Linked DNA regions of Homo sapiens: regions 2 and 3 are each linked to region 1. Evidence: promoter capture Hi-C in 16 types of primary human blood cells and fetal thymus (Javierre and others, 2016). All regions are on one chromosome and are shown on one strand. Each heading gives the region's core, a stretch centred on a gene start or on the middle of the fragment in contact. The rest is flanking DNA. Distances are from core to core; before and after follow the strand shown.

Evidence for each region. Contacts are between HindIII fragments. The CHiCAGO score rates a contact against its expected background, and 5 or more counts as called.
Region 2: a contact is called between the fragment with the promoter of PIKFYVE here and the fragment with the promoter of PLEKHM3 in region 1, in 5 of 17 cell types (total CD4 T cells, total CD8 T cells, fetal thymus and 2 more). The highest score is 7.8, in total CD4 T cells.
Region 3: a fragment that was not itself captured here is called in contact with the fragment with the promoter of PLEKHM3 in region 1 in 1 of 17 cell types (erythroblasts); the score reaches 5.7 in erythroblasts.

The regions. Positions count from the first base shown.
Region 1 is chr2:208,024,127-208,026,992 of GRCh38, forward strand. It overlaps PLEKHM3 (pleckstrin homology domain containing M3), which reads right to left and starts at 1,401. Exons shown (of 8, transcript NM_001080475.3): 1 at 1,263-1,401. The HindIII fragment of the contact is 3,995 bases long and covers 1-2,355 here.
Region 2 is chr2:208,265,005-208,268,084 of GRCh38, forward strand. PIKFYVE (phosphoinositide kinase, FYVE-type zinc finger containing) reads left to right here and starts at 1,251. Exons shown (of 42, transcript NM_015040.4): 1 at 1,251-1,411. RefSeq lists an enhancer at 1,088-1,137 and a silencer at 1,268-1,537. The HindIII fragment of the contact is 8,601 bases long and covers 1-3,080 here.
Region 3 is chr2:207,778,596-207,781,639 of GRCh38, forward strand. No RefSeq gene overlaps it. Among named protein-coding and RNA genes, the nearest start is that of FZD5, 10 kb to the left of the region's middle. The HindIII fragment of the contact is 410 bases long and covers 1,486-1,895 here.

The DNA.
Region 1 (2,866 bases), core at 151-2,650:
AGTAAGACCCTGTCTCAAAATAAAATAAAATAAAATAAAATAAAATAAAATAAAATAACAATAATAAAAACCCTAATGAGGTCAATACTATTATTATTCCCATTCTACAGATTAGGAAACAGAAGCGCTAAGTAAACTGCCCAAGATTACACAACTAGGAAGTGACCAAGCAGGAATTCAAACTGAAGTAGTCTGGCTTTATAGTTTTTGCTATAAACCATGACATTGTAAAAATATTCATTGTAAAGAAAAACTCATCAGGAATTAGTATCATTTCTTCTATGTATATCTATCTATTGTAGGTGCAATTTAACCTAATATTCATCTCCTGTCTAAAAGACTATGTGACCAAGGTTACAAATGTCTACTGATATTTTTAGAGACTAGATATATAGCCCAGCTTTTGTTAAGGCATTTTCTTGAAGTCAGTCAGTCAAAAACTGCCTTGTATTTTAAGTATGCCAATTATAATTTACATGTAGTATTTTATAATAAAATACTTTATAAATACAAATCACAACTCACTACGATTACTTAAAATATAGAGAAAAAAATTCAGCTGTTTCTCTCTGGTCCCTTCCAAGGAAGAAAAAAGAAGAGAGAAATAAACTTCTAAATAAGTTTACAACAGCATGGCTCAATCTCAGTTTAACCTGGTAAATTCAAATTTGTCTTGCTTTGCAAGGTATACATCCAGACCAGTCTCAATTTGTCATCCAAATATATATCTCAGTAGTAATTTATTTTTGTTTAAGGGATGAGTGTGAGATTTTCTTATCTTGATTTTTTAGCTTAATAATTCTTTCCTACAAGACCAAACCATGCTTGTCATCAGTCATGTGGTGTCATTTACTATACATTAAAAACGGACAGAGTCGACAGAAAGAACAATCGTTTTCTGGAAGCCCCAGCCTGATGTAGGTTAAAAGCTCTGCTGGGGTTTGGTTTTATAATCCCCAGGCGGGGATGGCAGGGATACTAATAACGCACTCAACAAGATCACCTACTATTTCAACTACTTTCTCCTCCTATTACATACCTGATTCACAAAAATAAGCAGACAATGCATCATGTAATCTCCCCTCACCCATTAGCCATTGCAGTGTGGTACAATCTCCAGCACGTAATAAAAACCTGAGCATGCAAGAAACAGCAAAATCACTGCTATCCCTGGGAGCTGCTCGGATATTTACAATGCAGTCGTCCCCACCCCATCCCCCAAACTGGCCGGCCAGGCAGCACAGAAGCAGACGGATGCTCACCTGGGCCCCGGCTGCTACTCTCCATTCACCTGCGGGGCCTTCAGTCCGCTCCTGGAGGGGCTTGACTCCCGCAGCCTGCCGCCCGCCTCACGGTGACAGCCCGCCCGGGCGCTGACCATCCCGGCCCGGCTCTGTTTACAAGCGGCTTCTCGCGGTCCCACTCTGAAATGCTTCCGCCGGCGGCCCGGGCAGCCAGAGCCGGACACACAAGGTTCCAGGCCGCGAGGACGAGTCTTTCCTGCCCGAGGGACCCGGCAGCTAGGCAAGGCCTGACCGCACCCGCCAGGCCTCCTTATTTCTTTGCTTTCTTATATACAGTTCCTCTTGTACACATTGTGAAAGCAATGGCGTGTGTCGTGGAGTCTCCTCACTGCTCCACCCAACGCCAAAATGGGTGTTTGCGATTGGAAAATGTCACTTAGAACATGTCAGGATCGGGCTGGTTTTTAGCAGCTCCCTTGTCTAAGGGAATTAATTACTCAAATAAGTTCTTTCCAAAAGTGGGACTATTCTGGAGATTGCTTCTCATTTCCGGTTTTGGGGCTGCAGTGAAAATCCGTTTTCACTGTCCTTTCCTACGCAGGTTGAAAAGGGGTGGTTTTGAGGTGAGGTCTTCACCCCCACTTGCGGATTCCCAGCAAAATAGGGTGTGCGTGTGTGTGCACGCGGGCAGGACTGCCTGGTAAGACCGCCCACATCCCACCTGCAGTGACTGTGGTCGCTTTGCAGGGATATGCTGGTCTGATTGGACAGACCTTCCTTGCAGTTTCCTGTCTGTTTTCCATCATAGCACACTTCTTAGCCATTTTCTCACTTTATAAGTACACACTTATTTATCAGTTTTATTGGTTTTCCCACGCTCACCCATCTCACCTATAAACTCCCTGAGGGCAGGCACTATTTCAGTTTCACTCACCACCATCTAGTAGGCACCTAGCACAGGCCCAATGTATATATATCTGAATAAATGAATGAACAAAGGAATGATAAAAAAAAAAAAAGGTCAAAGGGGTCAGGGATGAAACAGAAATCTAAAACTCTGATTCCTCTTCCCACCTTCCCACCCTCCAGAAGATTAATAAGCAAATCTTTAAGCTTTGAGTTAAGAAAAAATTTCCTTTGGTTGATATTCAAAGTTTAAATAAGCTTTCTTTAAACCCTGCAATTTGAGGTACTTTTTTTTCTGTTTTGCTAGAGACAGGATCTCACTCTGTGCCCCGGCCAGAGTGCAGTCGCACGATCATAGCTCACTGCAGCCCTGAACTCCTGGGTTCAAGGGATCCCCCCAACTCAGCCTCCTGAGTAGCTAGGACTACAGGCACGCATCACCACAACGTGGCTAACTTCTTTTTTCTTTCTTTCTCTTTTTTTTTTTTTTGTAAAGGCAAGGTCTCCCTGTGTTGCCCAGGATGATCCTGAACTCCTGGCCTCAGGCAATCCTTCTTCCTTGCCTTCCAAAGTGCTGGGATTACAGGTGTGAGCCACCTCACCTGGCCAGAGGTACATTTTTTGTTTTGTTTTGTTTTAATTACCAAAAGAGAATATTTGCAGTATTCTCTTTTGCCTCAGGACTTTGTACATGTGATTCCCTCTGATGAGAGTTC
Region 2 (3,080 bases), core at 1-2,500, 240 kb after region 1:
ATACGGTGCAAGCTCCCAGACAGGAGAGGGTGAATTGGGGGCCAAAAGGATTGAGCTGGGGAAGAAGAGGCCCCTTCCTCAGAGAGATGAGGGAGAAAGGCAGACCAGGGCAGATGTGGATGTAGGTAAATGTTGTGGTGTGTGGGGAATTAGCTTGTTAAGGGTCACGCCCAGATACCTTGGGATTTTTCACGTGGGTATAAAATATGATTCTCTGATGAGAATGATGGTCAAGGTAATGTGGGGGTCGTGGTGGTGGTCTGACGCAGCAGTAATAAGGAATGGGAGAAGCTGACTACAGACTCCCAGAAAGATTGCTGAAGGGCCCAGCTGAGGATGGTGACTGGGATTTGCACTGGACTCAACCTGCAGGTTTCGATGGTGCTTTCCAACTCCAGGAAAACTGGGCTGGGATTTGACAAAACTCTTGAGGAAAAGGACTCACAGAATTTAAAACTGCATTTCCCTTTAGGTTTCGTCTGCTTTCCATCCTCCCCTACCAAGCCCCACAACTGCGGCGAGCATGTTTTCTGCAGTTAACTGCACTGCGCTCTCAGCAGGACAGAAATGACGAATAACTCTAGCCAAGCTGAACAAGATAGGGCTTGGGCTTGGTAACTTTATTTGCATCAGCATTTGCAACACAACACCTAAATGAAAAAATTAACTATAAAGCCGACATCACTTACTCTGGGTCAGGGAACTGTGCCATTCGCTTTAAGTGCATTTACTTAATCTCAAAAAAGTATTAAGAAGTGAGTCCTTTTATTAATCCGACTTTACACACCAGAGGTCTAAGGCCTAAATAAATGAGCAATTTGCTTAAGATCATATGGCTGGTTATTGGTGGAGTCATGCAAGTCTGGAAACAGAGTCATCGCTAACTCCGGTTCAGTGCTACACGAGTGAACTGTCTACAACAAAGCAATAACATATTATGAGTGCCCACAGTATCGAACACATACGGTAACCGCAGTCCAGCCAGCACCCCTGCAGTGCCCAGAGCACCAAGCACCCATCCGTTGACCCCGCATGCGTGACGCTCACGCGCGCAGTCCCCCTGGCTTCTTCCAGGAAGGCTGAAGCGGCCTAATCTCGGCCAAAAGATCAGGACGACTCGATCTGGGCTGGACTCCTTCTGCCTGAGCATCTGATCCGAGCGTCGGCCGGGCTGGGAGGAGCCGGCCCCCGGGAAAGATTTCGGACTGGGGGACAGGAAAACAGAGGGCGGAGTCTTGGGGGGGGGAAGCGAGAAGCCGCATCAACCATGTAAGCAGCTTCGCTTCCTGCCGCAACCGTCCGCGGCCTGAGGAGCCCACCGCCGCTCTCGGGGGCCGACTTCCGGGGGCTGAGCCGTTGAAGCGGAGGCTGGGGCGGGGGGCAGCCGGCGCGGCCGGGGCAGGAGGCGCAGGTAAGGGAGGGGGCCTGGAGCTTGGCCGGCTGGGGCTCAGCATGGGAAGGAGGCCGGTATGGGGAGCTCCAGGGCCAGAGCTGAGGTGAAAGTGAGAACCAGGGCTCCGCAGTCGGGGGCTAGGGCCTGGCTGCCGGCTGAGCAAGGAAGGGCAGAGAATCTGGCTTTAGAATTAGCTTGTCCTCCCTATTCCCCGGCTGCCTTGTCTGGCGAGTGGGGACGGAAGCCGGGTGGGGCCCTTGAGATTTCCTTGGAAACATTTGAAGTTCCTTTGCCTCTCTCTCGACCCTTACGCCTGAACTTAATTAGGAGGGGAAGAGTACAGTTACTTTTCCCTCTGAGTGCATGAGTTCTGAGTTTGTCAGAGGCGCATCCGTAGGCTGGAAAAGAAAGTTCATGAGCTGCAGAAACGATACCAACCGTGGGGGTTCAAATAAGTGTTTGTCTTTTTAAATGCTTGCCTCTGCTATTTGAGACGATTCCATTTCAACTTAGGTTTTGGAGTTTCTTGAGGAGGAGCATTATTTCCCAATTAGTGTTTACCCTTTGCTTAGAATGTTCCCAACAAAAGGATGAGAATGGAATGTGTTGGAAACTTTTAGGACTTAGGGGTTTTCTGCCCAATCAGAGGTTATTCCTAAGACAGTCAAGAAATATAAGAAGTGCTAGAATTCTGTATAAAGCAAGTTATTCGTGTGTATCTGATGTGTATACATGATTCATTATCTACTATTGACGCAGTGCATCCTGTGTTGTAAAATATGTCCAGTGTTGACAATAGAGGTAGTCGCTTGGTATAATGTACTTATTTCTGATTTATTTGAGCCCCTTTTTTGGCACTCCAAAACTCCCACTCTGTCAGTTTTCTTACAAAAAATGTTCTTTCTTTTGTGTTTGTGACAAAGATTGTGTAGGTTAAATCTCTTCTGTGGAGCAAGGCTAATTTCCTGTGTTCTCCCTTTTTCTGCTTTCTGGATCCTGCTCTGGTTTTCCTTTAAGCGTGTTGGTCAAAAATTGAACAAGAAATCTTTGTTGATAGAAGCTAACATTTCCAATATTCAGCTTTCCTAAATTATTACATTGCCAGTTTTTTTTTTTTTTTTTTTTGAGAGACAGAGTCTCGCTCTGTCCCCCAGGTTGGAGTGCAGTGGCGCGATCTCCTCCGACTGCAACCTCCGCCTCCCAGGGTTCAGGCGATTCTCCTGCCTCAGCCTCCTGAGTAGCTAGATTGCAGGCGCGCGACACCACACTCGGCTAATTTTTGTATTTTTAGGGGAGACGGGGTTTCACCATGTTAGCGAAGCTGGTTTTGAATTCCTGACCTCAGGCGATTCACCCGCCTCGGCCTCCCAAGGTGCTGGGATTACAGGCGTGAGCCACCGGGCGGGGGTCTCCCTCCCTCGCCCAGGCTGGAGTGAAGTGGTGTGATCTCGGCTTACTGCAGTCTCCGCCTCCCAGGCTCAAGGGATTCTCCTGCCTCGGCCTCCCAAAGTGCTGGGATCACAGGTGTGAGCAGCCACGTCCGGCCTTTACTGACTGGCTTCTGATAGTTTGTAGTAGGTCTGCATATATTAGTAGCCTTAATTAGAAATGGTGAAGTATTGGTGATATATCAGAAGGCTTTGGGTAGGTAGGTTAATAGGACTGATTACCACTCAGGAAAGAGTCC
Region 3 (3,044 bases), core at 441-2,940, 250 kb before region 1:
AACTTGTACCTGATTAGTCACTCATGTCTAATCAAAGTATTCTTTTTGTCTTTTTTTTCCCCCTTTTTGTGGAGAAGAGGGTCTCACTACATTGCCCAGGCAGGTCTCAAATTTCTGGGCTCAAGCTGTCCTCCCAACCTCTGCCTCCCTGAGTGCTGGGATTACAGGGTGTAAGCCACCACGTCCGGCCAAAGTATTTTTTAATGAGTTAAATTCATATACACACTCTACCTAAAACACTTATTTATTGATACAGTGTTTGATTTATCCAACTCATTACTAATGCAAAAGGACAGAGGAAAGGAGCAAAGAGCACAAGAGAGAAAAAACAAGAGTGTTGGGTGATACCCACAAAGAAAACAGAGCCTTAACCTTCCCCAGGCTTCATGCTACAAACACTGTTGATTACTGCCCGAGTCATCTCTCCTTTCAGTTTCCTAACAGAACCCCAGTTGGTTTTTTTGTGTTTTGATTTGTAGGCATCTACCCTTCTTTTCACCGCCATGTGCTTCAGTGGAGGCAGGAACTCCAGTCCAAGCCCAAAGACATAATACACAGTTGGTCCAGTTGACCATGTTGCTCCCTCCTGCCCCTCTTTTTTTTCCATTTCTTTTTCTTTTTCTTTTTCTTTTTTTGAGACGGAGTCTCGCTCTGTCCCCAGGCTGGAGTGCAGTGGCATGACCTCAGCTCACTGCAAGCTCCGCCTCCCGGGTTCACACCATTCTCCCGCCTCAGCCTCCTGAGTAGCTGGGACTACAGGCCACCACGCCAGGCTAATTTTTTGTATTTTTAGTAGAGACAGGGTTTCACCGTGTTAGCCAGAATGGTCTCGATCTCCTGATCTCGTGATCCACCTGCCTCAGCCTCCCAAAGTGCTGGGATTACAGGCGTGAGCCACCATGCCCGGCCTTTTTTTTTTTTTTTTTTTTTTCCATTTTTTCTTTTTCTTTTTTTCTTTGCGACGGGGTCTCAATCTGTCTCTCAGGCTGGAGTGCAGTGGCACGACCACGGCTCACTGTAGCCTCAACCTCCCAGGCTCAAGCAATCCTCCCACCCCAGCCTCCTGAGTAGATGGAACTACAGGCATGCGCCACCACGCCCGGCTAATGTTTGTTTTCTTTGTAGAGACGGGGTCATCCCAGGCCAGGTGTCAGGCACATGACTAAAGAAGCTCCCTGATGATTCTACCCCCAGCCTCAAGCCACTCCCTGTCGTTCAAGTCTTCCCATCTGAGGCCCCAGATAGCATGGGGCAGAGACTAGCCATCCCCACTGTGCCCTCTCCCGCTTCCTGATTTGCAGCATCCGTGAGCATAATTAAATGGCTCTTGTTTTACACCACTAATTTGGAGTGGTTTGTTACACAGTAGTGGTAACTGGAATGCCCAAATACCCCCAAACCCACCGTCCCTTGACATCTTAGATAATCAGGTAGACAACTTTTTTCTTTTTGCCTGACCCAGTTGGTGATCAACTTATACACTGAAGCTTGAGAACTTTCATCCGCTGTACTTTTATCCTATTGAGCCTCACTGTTGATGATATGCATGTGAAATGTCTAATCCTTTAAAACACAAATCTTCACCATTGATCTTAATATCCTGCTGCAGTGAGTTCCCCAGGTCAATTGTGTGTAGTGGGGGAAAAAAGTACCTTCTTTTATCCATTTAAACATGCTTCCTTTTTATCTCATCTTGTCCTCTTGTTCTTCCCCAAGTAAAGCGATTTCCATTCTGTGGGTACCTACACACAGAGACCTAAGTTGAGACAATAATTTTCCTTTGAGCTGGTCACCCAGAAGGCCTCGTGCGCACCGGGACATGGAGCAGTGGATTTTAGTTGGTGACTTAAAGGTGGTGGAACACTCCATTCTAATTAGTCACAGATTTAGTTCCAAGCTTTAAAAAAAAAATAGTCTCTGCAAGAGACTAATTCTGCAAGAGGCAGGCCAGGCATGGTGGCTCATGCCTGTAATCTCAGCATTTTGGGAGGCCAAGGCGGATGGATCACCTGAGGTCGGGAGTTCGAGACCAGGGAACTTCTTTTGAGACAGGGTCTCACTCTGTCACCCAGGCTGGAGTGCAGTGGCGCATTCTCTGCTCACTGACACCTCCACTTCTCAGGTTTAAGCAATTCTCCTGCCTCAGCCTCCTAAGTAGCTAGGATTACAGGTGCCTGCCACCACACCCAGCTAATTTCTGGTACTATGTTCACTCTCTGCATGATGGGATAATTCATACACCAAACCTCAGTGACACACAATTTACCCATGTAACAAACCTGCACACATACCCCACGAACCTAAAAGTTTTTTTAAAAACCCCAAAGCCCACACACCAACATATTTAAAATACAACAACTTTTCTCAGATTCACCTCTTAGTGAAAGAAAATCTGCCATCCTGAGGGTTGCCAAAATCATATTTGCAGATGGCAATAAAAGATTTATGGAGTGCTTTCTATGTACCAAGCCCCTAGCTAAATGCTTCATGCATTATCTCATTCAATCCTCACAACACCCAGTAATAATAGGTTATTTTATTTTCCCGATTTTACAGATGAGGAAACCTAGGCATAAAGAGATTGAGTAGCTCGCCTAGGGCCACTCAGTGTGTAATTGGCAATGCTTCACTTGCAGGGATTCCTCTTGCTGTAACTCTATTGTGGTTTTATTTTAAATATCTGTGCCATCTTACCTCTGCTATTAAATACTTGGGCAAAGATTAATGCCACATCGATTTCATTCTTTCGATATACAGTGTAATGAGCGGGGATAATGGTGGGAAAAATCACAGTCACCTATGTATGCTGGAATGGATCTTGATGATCCTGTGGTTTTTACCTCCTCATTTTACAGATGAAGAAATGGGTCAAAGAAGATTTTGGATAAACTTAAACTGAATGAGAGAAAATTAGAGAGTCCAAATACTCCTGGGGAAACTCCAGGTAACGCTTCCCTGGGCAAGTAGGGGCTTTGACTTATCTGTTCTCGCCCTCAGATGTGCAAGTCTGCAGCCTTTGTAAATATAACTTTGTGGCCAGTAAT